Linked DNA regions of Homo sapiens: regions 1 and 2 are each linked to region 3. Evidence: promoter capture Hi-C in 16 types of primary human blood cells and fetal thymus (Javierre and others, 2016). All regions are on one chromosome and are shown on one strand. The core of a region is centred on a gene start or on the middle of the fragment in contact, and the rest is flanking DNA. Distances in the headings are between cores, read along the strand shown.

Region 1 (2,700 bases), core at 25-2,524, 430 kb before region 3:
CACAAACAGCCCCTACCCTCAATGATCTCCATACAAAGAGCTCCAAAGAGTGCCTCTCCTACAACACACCCCTGCTCCACACAGCCGTTCTCTCTGCCCTCCACCAACCCAAATCCTACCCTGCCCTGTGAGGCCAGCTCAAGTTCCACCCAACTCGGAGTCCCCCATGCACTTCTGCCACTTTGAGAGATTACTGCACTCATATCTCTAGGCTTTATAAAGTGGATGTCATCTCCCTCATTAGACTTGAGGCTCCTGAAGGCAGAGATTATTTTTAGAATTTTCAAGAAAGAAGTCACATCAGTGGTTTGCATCAGACCACGCTTAGGCCCTGCCTGACCCTTCAATTCACACACAGGCTCCACTGCCTAGCACAGTCCCTGGCCCCTGCACGTGCTTTATAACCCCTGCAGTAGCAAAGCCCACAACCAACTCTGTGACAAGGCAACAGGCTGGGATAATTTGAAAACACAGAGAGAAGAACTGTCAAACAAAAATCAAAGGGCTTTGACTCATGGCTTGCCTCTTCCCTCCTCTCAGGGAAACAAAATCACGCCACCTGTTCTCACTCCTGCCTCATTCCAGGCCTCTTCATATTCCATGATGATCCTTGCCTATAAATAACAATTCCTGTGTTGTGAGCCAAATAGTGATTTTCCATTTCCACCACTCCTTCTACATTTATTAACTGGAATTCTGCTACAAGAAAAAGCTATTTCTGCTTCCTCATTTATTTAATTTATTCAATTATTTATTTATATCAGCATGGATTCATGGGTATTTATGAACTGGAATCCATTACTATCATTATTTATTATGTTGTTCATATTGTCCCAAAATTGACCATTGAGAGTTCCTTGGAAATCTGTGACCTTTTGACACATCCCCACCATTTTTCGTGCAGTTCCTTATTTTCTGGCCCCACAAGGAGCTCCAGGTTCCTCTATGCTTTCCTGACCCAGCCCTGGAATCAGCTATTTCTCCAGGGAGCCCTGGTTCCTTTCATGGGAGAACGATGTTTGCAGGCCATCGGCACTGATAGGCCCACGGTTAGAAGGTGCTGGTGCTTCTGTGCTCTCTAGTGGTCAGATCTGGGAAATACACACTCACACTAGTTTACTGTTACCCACATTTTAGAAATTAGGTAAATGAGGCACAGAAAAGTTACACAACTTGACCAAAATCGCAGAGCAAATAGATAGTAAAACTGTGACATGAAAATAATGACAGATGCACCACAAGTCCTAACAAGCGAAAAAGTAACTTATCACACATGTACATTACCAGAAAGCCACAAGCCCAATATTCCAGCATAGACACTCTCTCTGGAAAATAACCAGAATCCCACAGCAATAACCACAATGATAACCATCATGTACTCAACAACTGCCTGGGCACGGGGCTCCCACAGCAGCTCACTTATTCCCAACAACTCTGCAAGGTGGATTTTACCATCCTCCTTTTACAAATCAGGGAATCAAGGATCACAGAAGCCAAGTGACGTGTCCAAGTTGACATAGTTAAGTGATGGAGCCAGTAATTGACCCCAGGTCTATCTGGATATAAAGTGCATGCTTATGCCACTGTATCAGCGTTTCCCAAAACTGATTTTAGGTGAAAGTTAAATAAGCTGTTTTTTAATTTTAATACTCATGTGTTTATTTTAATGCATGTTAGAAAAACATTTAAGCACACATCAAATCTGTAATTTCATGGACAATACTGCATAAGACAAGGATGTTTTGTCTCCAACTCCTGGCCTCAAGCAATCCTTCCACCTCAGCCACTCGAGTAGCTGGGATCACAGGTGTGAGCCACTGTGCCCTGATAAACAAAGATGTTTTGTAAACTAAATTTATTTAGAAAAAAATAGTATGGGCTGGCCACGGTGGCTCATGTCTGTAATCCCAGCACTCTGGGAGGCCAAGGTGGGCAGATCACTTGAAGTCAGGAGTTCAAGACCAGCCTGGCCAACATAGTGAAACCCCGTCTCTACTAAAAATACAAAAAATTAGCTGGGTATGGTGTCGCATGCCTGTAATCCCAGCTACTCGGGAGGCTGAGGCAGGAGAATCGCTTGAACCTGGGAGGCAGAGGTTGCGCATTGAGCTCAGATCGCACCATTGCACTCCAGCCTGGGCAACAAGAGCAAAATCCCATCTCAAAAAAAGAAAAATAGTATGAAGTAAATAATAAATGTGGAACAAGCTGTAGAGAAAATCATAAAGGTGATCTAGAAATGTCTGAGGTCTGGATGACATAATACTACAGCAACGTGCAGCTTCATTCTCAGTTACTCCCAGGAAATTAGGGCCACATAGCGCTGCAGAAAGAACAAGTAAGACTCTTAGACCTGGGCTTTAGCCCCAGATGTGTCCATTCCTAGGACCCCAGACATCTTTGTGACCTCCTTGCTGGGAGGAAATCCAACCTTCCCAGACATTTAAGAACACTAAGAAGACCCTGAATACACCGAGGGATTTCTTTGTCATAGAGACAACAAACCAGGTTCGGGGACCCCAGGGACTCTCTGTGTGGTGTTGACAGACCCAAGGCCAAGACACAGCAGAGATCAGTGCTGGGGAGGGTGATTTGTCCTGTTAAGGGACAGGGGTCCAAATAAACCTTGCTTCTCAAAGCATAGTCTGGGGAATGTAAATGAAGACAGAACGGAAAAAAGAAGAATGGACAAGAAGGCAG
Region 2 (2,700 bases), core at 180-2,679, 280 kb after region 3:
TTGCAGTGCTTCCTTTCTCTGTGACTTTGTGGCCCTGGTCATCTGTCACTAGGAAAGCATGGCACACCAAGTCTTAGGCAGGTCTATTAAGGAGCAATCATATATCTAAGTTATAGCTAAGGGGAGGGAAGAAGGGTGTGAAGCCGACTTTGGTCTCCTGATATCTCAGTATCTCCTGAGAAGTGCTGCAGGTTTGTTACTCTGTACTCTGCTAGGGAGGAGAAGAAACCCACCCTCTCAAAATCCCAAATAAGAAATAACAAGTTGTAATTGGATGTCATCACCATCAATCATCTTGAGTAAAACAAGGGGTGTAGGTAACATCAGGAAAAAGAATCAGTGATCAAGCACATCCCTTGAGCCCCTTCTAAGGGTGGGAATGGGAAGGGGGTCTCCAGGCTTCATGTCTTTGGAATAGCTCAACAGGTTTTCCTATGTACGGAATGGTTCAAGGAGAAGGACTTGACACCAGAGGACTGAGAAACAAATGCAGGTAAGATCTTATTCTTAATGATATCTTGAGGAGAAAAATAAAAGACTTTTTTGAAAAACTCTTGACTTGTATGTATCTTCTGGAGTCCTGATTGGGGAAAGGAGTGGTGCATCTTTCATTCTATGCTTTTATTTATTTGTTTTTATAGAGACAGGGTCTCCCCGTGTTACTCAGGCTGGTCTCAAACTCCTGGGCTCAAGCGATCCTCCTGCCTTGGCCTCCCAAAGTGCTGGGATTACAGGTGTGAGCTATCACACCCGGCCCAATGCTTTATAAACATTATTAACTAATTTGGAGCCTGGCAAAGAGAAGGAACCCTCCTCTGATCTCTGCCTAGAAATTTCCCCTAAAACACTTGGGCAAGTTACTTTACCTCTTTAAGCTTGTTTCTTCACTTGTAAAATGGGAACCATCCTGCATAACTTCCAGGGTTGCTGTGAAGATATGTGAATCAAATGGAGTGGGCACTCAATAAATGGTAATAAATGTTTCTTAACCTTTTATGGATCCTTCGAAACTCAGACACGTGAACCTCCCTAGTTGAGGAAAAACTTGTGATAAAGACTAACTCGATTCTTTCTATTCTGGTTAGCCTCAATTTCCCCATCTGGAAAATGTATCAAATTGGTATTCCACTGGCCAAAGCTAGCCTGAAAATATGTTTTATTTGGCACGTATAGAATTTAAAGAAGAAAACTGAGCCAACATTTGAAAATTAAGATGTTTTACATGGAAATCTAGTTTTCCAGTTTCTCTTAAAAAATCAGAAGATGGAGCAACACTGAGTCCACATTCCCGCCTGGCAGTAATCTGCTAGGGCCAAAAGGAGGCTGCTCCTTAGGCAAGGCATCCATTCTCAGTTTGCCAGGGTCCATCTGGCCTTCTTTACTCATTTATTTGATCTGCTCAGCCCTGTAGGCATTTCGATTTGTAGCCCCTCTAGACAGCTGGAAACTGTCTATGCCTGGCACAGAGCGGGCAATTAATCAGTGAATCCCCCATTATTTCTTTACATCATTTTTTTTTATTTGGACAAAGAAAAAAATCCAAGTTTGTTTTCATCTATGGTAGCTATTGGATAACAGATTTTTCACTTTGAGAAGCGAAATGAACAAGTCCTTTCTGTCAGTCAGGATAGACTAGGTTAGGCTGTGGTAACACTCTCCAAATCTCAGTGGCTTACAACAACAAAGGTTTATTTCTTGCTTACTCACACAAACCTAGACACAAAATGAAAACACTCTCCTGTTTTCACATGCATGGAGACAGACATGAATGCATAGGCATTTACAGAATCATGGAATCCTGGGATGTAAACTCATGCAAACACGTTTATAGATACTGGTCAGCTTAAATAGCACAACTCTCTCTTTATTGGGGATTTCAAGAGATCCCAGGACCCAAGAAGGGTACAAGAATATCCACTGTCAGCCAAGGAAATGCCCACACTACCAAAGGAACTGAAAGCTAATGAAGCACCTGAAAGCTTAAACAAACAAACAAACAAACAAACAAAAAAGCCCGAAGCTTGTACTACATTAAATTCCATGCATAAATCCTTAAGTAAGACACTAAATATACAGTGCCAGCAGGCTGTCACCTCCCTGCCATAGCAAGACAGCCTCCATCTCTGGGTTTCTAGCTCAGGAGGGAGATGGACCCCAGACGGCCAATATGCAGAGCAACAGAGGGGGCTGGGCTGGGTCGAAGACAGGGGCCAACAGGCTGGAATCCTCTTCCTCCAGCAGGAGCTACAGGCAAGAAGGAAGGGGCAGGATCAGGTCACACCTGTTTTTCCTTCTAGCAACCCCCTCTTTTTACCGAATCCAATCCAGGCCTCATCATTGTTCTCCTGGATTATTTCACAGACCTCCTTGCTAATTTTCCCACCTCCAGTCTTGCCTCCTCCAAACCGTCCATCAAAGCCACCCACTTGTCTTTCTAAAGCTCAGGGTCTCTGAATTTGTCCTTGCTTAGTTCAGAAACGTTCCCTGGCTCCCCTTCACATACAGTTGCTGTTCTAGACACCTAAGCCTGGCATGCCAGATCTCCACCATCAGAAGCCTCTCCAGCCTCCTTTCCCTCTGTTCTAGCATTTCCTCCAGGCCAGTCTGCCCAATCCACTATTTGGACAAGAGAATTCGCAGCTTTCCCTGTCTGTCCCCCTAGGTGTTTCTCACTCTTCAAGGTTCCTCCAATCTTCTTCA
Region 3 (2,700 bases), core at 36-2,535:
TATCAGTATATGGGAGTGACCATCGTCAGCAGGGAGGGCTGGTGTTGGGGCCTGTGCACATAGATGTGTTCATGCACGTGTGTGTGCACACGTGTGTGTGTGTGAAGTGCTGGGGTTCATCTGTAGAAATACTTGTGTGTGTGAGGGTGAGTCCAGGCGTCTGTGCATGCACCTGTGGTTTAGGGGGCCCCCCAGCCACGGGGCGCAGGATGTCCTGCGGGGCCCAGGCGGGCATGTGGGGTGTCTGGAGACGCCAGGCAGCCCCACAGCCTCAGACCTCGGGCACCAAGAGGAAGAGGGCAGCGGACTCGGGCGCGCCTTTGTCTGAGCTGCGGTGCGCCGGGAGTCCTGCGCCTTTGTGTGACCCTCGCAGGTGTGCGAGCGGAGGTGTTGGGAGGGTGTTGGGGAGGGGAGCGGAGGGAGGGGCTCCCTTCTCCGCAGCCGGCCCCGCCCTCCGGCCCATTGGCTGGGCGCTGCCGCCCTCTGGCGGGCACGGAGGGAAGCGCTGAAATGGGAGCGCCGCAGCGCGAAGAGCCAGCCGGCAGCCCGGGGACCTGGTGCTCCCCTCCACTGGAGCCGCCTCGGGCGCCCGCATTTGGCCGGCGACTTATTGTAGCCCCAGGCCAAGTCCCCGACCCACCGTCCCCACTACCACTGCCCACGGGCACCACTTCCTCCCAATGGTGGCACCCAACAGCTCACCTGCAGATAGGCGCAGGGCTTGCTTGATCTTCCCTGCCGCGGCGTGCTTTTAAGCTTCAACGCTTCTTGGCTCTGGGCCTTTGGGAAAGCTACTGCTCACCTCTCTGATCCTCAGTCTTTTCATCTGTAAAATGGGGCAAATAAGAGTGACCACCACATTGGAGATGGCACCTGTCAAGAGTGAGGCACAGGGTCAGGCATCGGCAAAGCCCTCTCTCCAATAAGCTGCTGGCTAGTGTTTTATTGTTGTTACTGCTGTGGACCCACCTTCTCTCCCAGACCCCCATTCCCTGTTCCAGACTTGTTTGCCTCCATGGGGGCGACAGAAGTCGGGGGGCAACTGTTGCAGGCACCTCTTGGATCGCAGCCGTAGGAGTCGGCTCTTCCAGCCTGCTTATCCTCTGCCCCACTAGCCCCCACCCCCCAGCACACACACATGATTTGGGGTGGGCCGGGCTGCCGGGGCGGGTCTGTGGGCCAGGGTATTTTCCCTTCTGAAGGGGGCGGACCGGCCCTGTGGTTTCCTCCCTGAGTGACTTCCGGCAGGGAGGGCTCGGCCCCCAGAGAGGGTGGGGAGATGACACAGTTGTTCCCCCAGCCCTGGCGGGGCGGGCAGCATGGTTCACTCCAGCATGGGGGCTCCAGGTAAGGGGGCTGGTGCCTGTGCCACTGCTCAGAGGACAGGCAGCACATTTAGGTTTGCTCTGCGGGCCCTGCCTGCCCCTCCTCCTCAGCTGTCTCCATTGTCCTTCTCCTCTGTACTCTAGCAACTCCCTCTCTCCCATGCCGGGTCCCCGCTAACCCCCACAGCTCCTCTTTGCCCTCTCTTTCCACATCAGGCACCGGAACTTCCAACATCTTCTCTTCTCTGTTGCCCTGTTCCGAAGGGTCTGGGGACGGGAGGGAGGGAGCTGGGTGTTGGTAGCGGGCCCTCATGTGGAGAACCAGTGGGGTGGGTGACATGGGCAATCCTTGGATAAGGGCTGCAAAGGGATTGGAATGCCAAGTTGCTGGACTTGGGGGATGTCATTCCCTTTTGAGTGTGTGTGTGCACATCTGGTACAGGTGTGCGTGTGCATGTGTGTGTGCAGTAGTTCTGAGTGCTCTGAGTGGGACTGCTGTGTGCTTGTGAGTGTAGGGGGCTGTTGTGTGTGGCATTGTGGGGTGATGATTGCCTGGCTCCCTTCTTCACTTCATTCACCTCAGATGTCACCTCCTCAGGGCAGCCTTCCCTGACCTCCCCATCTAAACTGGCACTGATCCTGTCACTCTCAGTCCCCTCACCCTGCTTTATCTTTTCTTCACGGCACGTATCACTGCTGGGAATTTCATTATGTGTTTGTTTGTGTGCTTATTAAATGCCTTCTCCACCAAATGTCAGTTGGCTGAGTGAACATTGTGCACCAGGCACTGTACAAGGTGATTTATAGCTGTTGGCTCATTTAGTAGAATGTGTATATGTCTGTATGGTGATGGCTATCACTCAGCAGTGTTGATGGGAGTCTTAAATGAGGTAATACATGTAGCATGCTTAGCACAGTGCCTGGAACATGGCAAGCACTCAGCCCTTCATGCCTGTTTCATTTGTGGCTGTGTAGGCATGACCATGGGCATGAGTCTTGGTTTGGTGGTGTGTGCTGTCCTATATGCGCCATTGTGTGCGGGCACCCGTGTGTCCTCCACCAACATGTATCTATTGAGTAGTTCTGTGTTGGGTGTTGGAAGTACAGTGGAAAGGGTAGCTCAGGTCTGTCCTCCTGGAGCTCCCAGTTTATTGGAGAAGACAGACCTGTCACCAATGACAGTACAGACAGGTCAGGGCTGGGATGGGGGAGGTCCAGGCAGAGGGATCAGGGCTGGGATGGGGGAGGCCCAGGCAGAGGGGTCAGGGCTGGGATGGGGGAGGCCCAGGCAGAAGGGTCAGGGCTGGGGTGGTGGGCACAGGCAGAGGTGTCGGGGTGGGATGGGGGGACAAAGGTAGAGGGGTTGGGGCTGGGA

What was found. The method cuts DNA at HindIII sites, captures the fragments that hold promoters and counts their contacts. A CHiCAGO score of 5 or more calls a contact.
Region 1: a contact is called between a fragment that was not itself captured here and the fragment with the promoter of POU2F2 in region 3, in 1 of 17 cell types (neutrophils). The highest score is 5.4, in neutrophils.
Region 2: a fragment that was not itself captured here is called in contact with the fragment with the promoter of POU2F2 in region 3 in 1 of 17 cell types (fetal thymus); the score reaches 5.7 in fetal thymus.

Annotation. Positions count from the first base shown.
Region 1 is chr19:42,561,915-42,564,614 of GRCh38, reverse strand. All of the region lies in intron 2 of LIPE-AS1 (LIPE antisense RNA 1), which reads right to left. Among named protein-coding and RNA genes, the nearest start is that of CEACAM8, 32 kb to the left of the region's middle. The HindIII fragment of the contact is 9,698 bases long and covers 1-2,700 here.
Region 2 is chr19:41,851,128-41,853,827 of GRCh38, reverse strand. It overlaps DMRTC2 (DMRT like family C2), which reads right to left. Exons shown (of 9, transcript NM_001040283.3): 9 at 1,495-2,244. The coding sequence ends at 2,132. Among named protein-coding and RNA genes, the nearest start is that of DMRTC2, 7.4 kb to the right of the region's middle. The HindIII fragment of the contact is 1,104 bases long and covers 878-1,981 here.
Region 3 is chr19:42,131,031-42,133,730 of GRCh38, reverse strand. It overlaps POU2F2 (POU class 2 homeobox 2), which reads left to right and starts at 1,285. Exons shown (of 15, transcript NM_001394376.1): 1 at 1,285-1,347. The coding sequence starts at 1,320. It overlaps LNROP (long non-coding regulator of POU2F2), which reads right to left and starts at 1,102. Exons shown (of 3, transcript NR_038332.1): 1 at 970-1,102; 2 at 703-826. MIR4323 (microRNA 4323) reads left to right here and starts at 218; the gene lies at 218-286. RefSeq lists an enhancer at 14-63 and a silencer at 344-603. The HindIII fragment of the contact is 8,202 bases long and covers 759-2,700 here.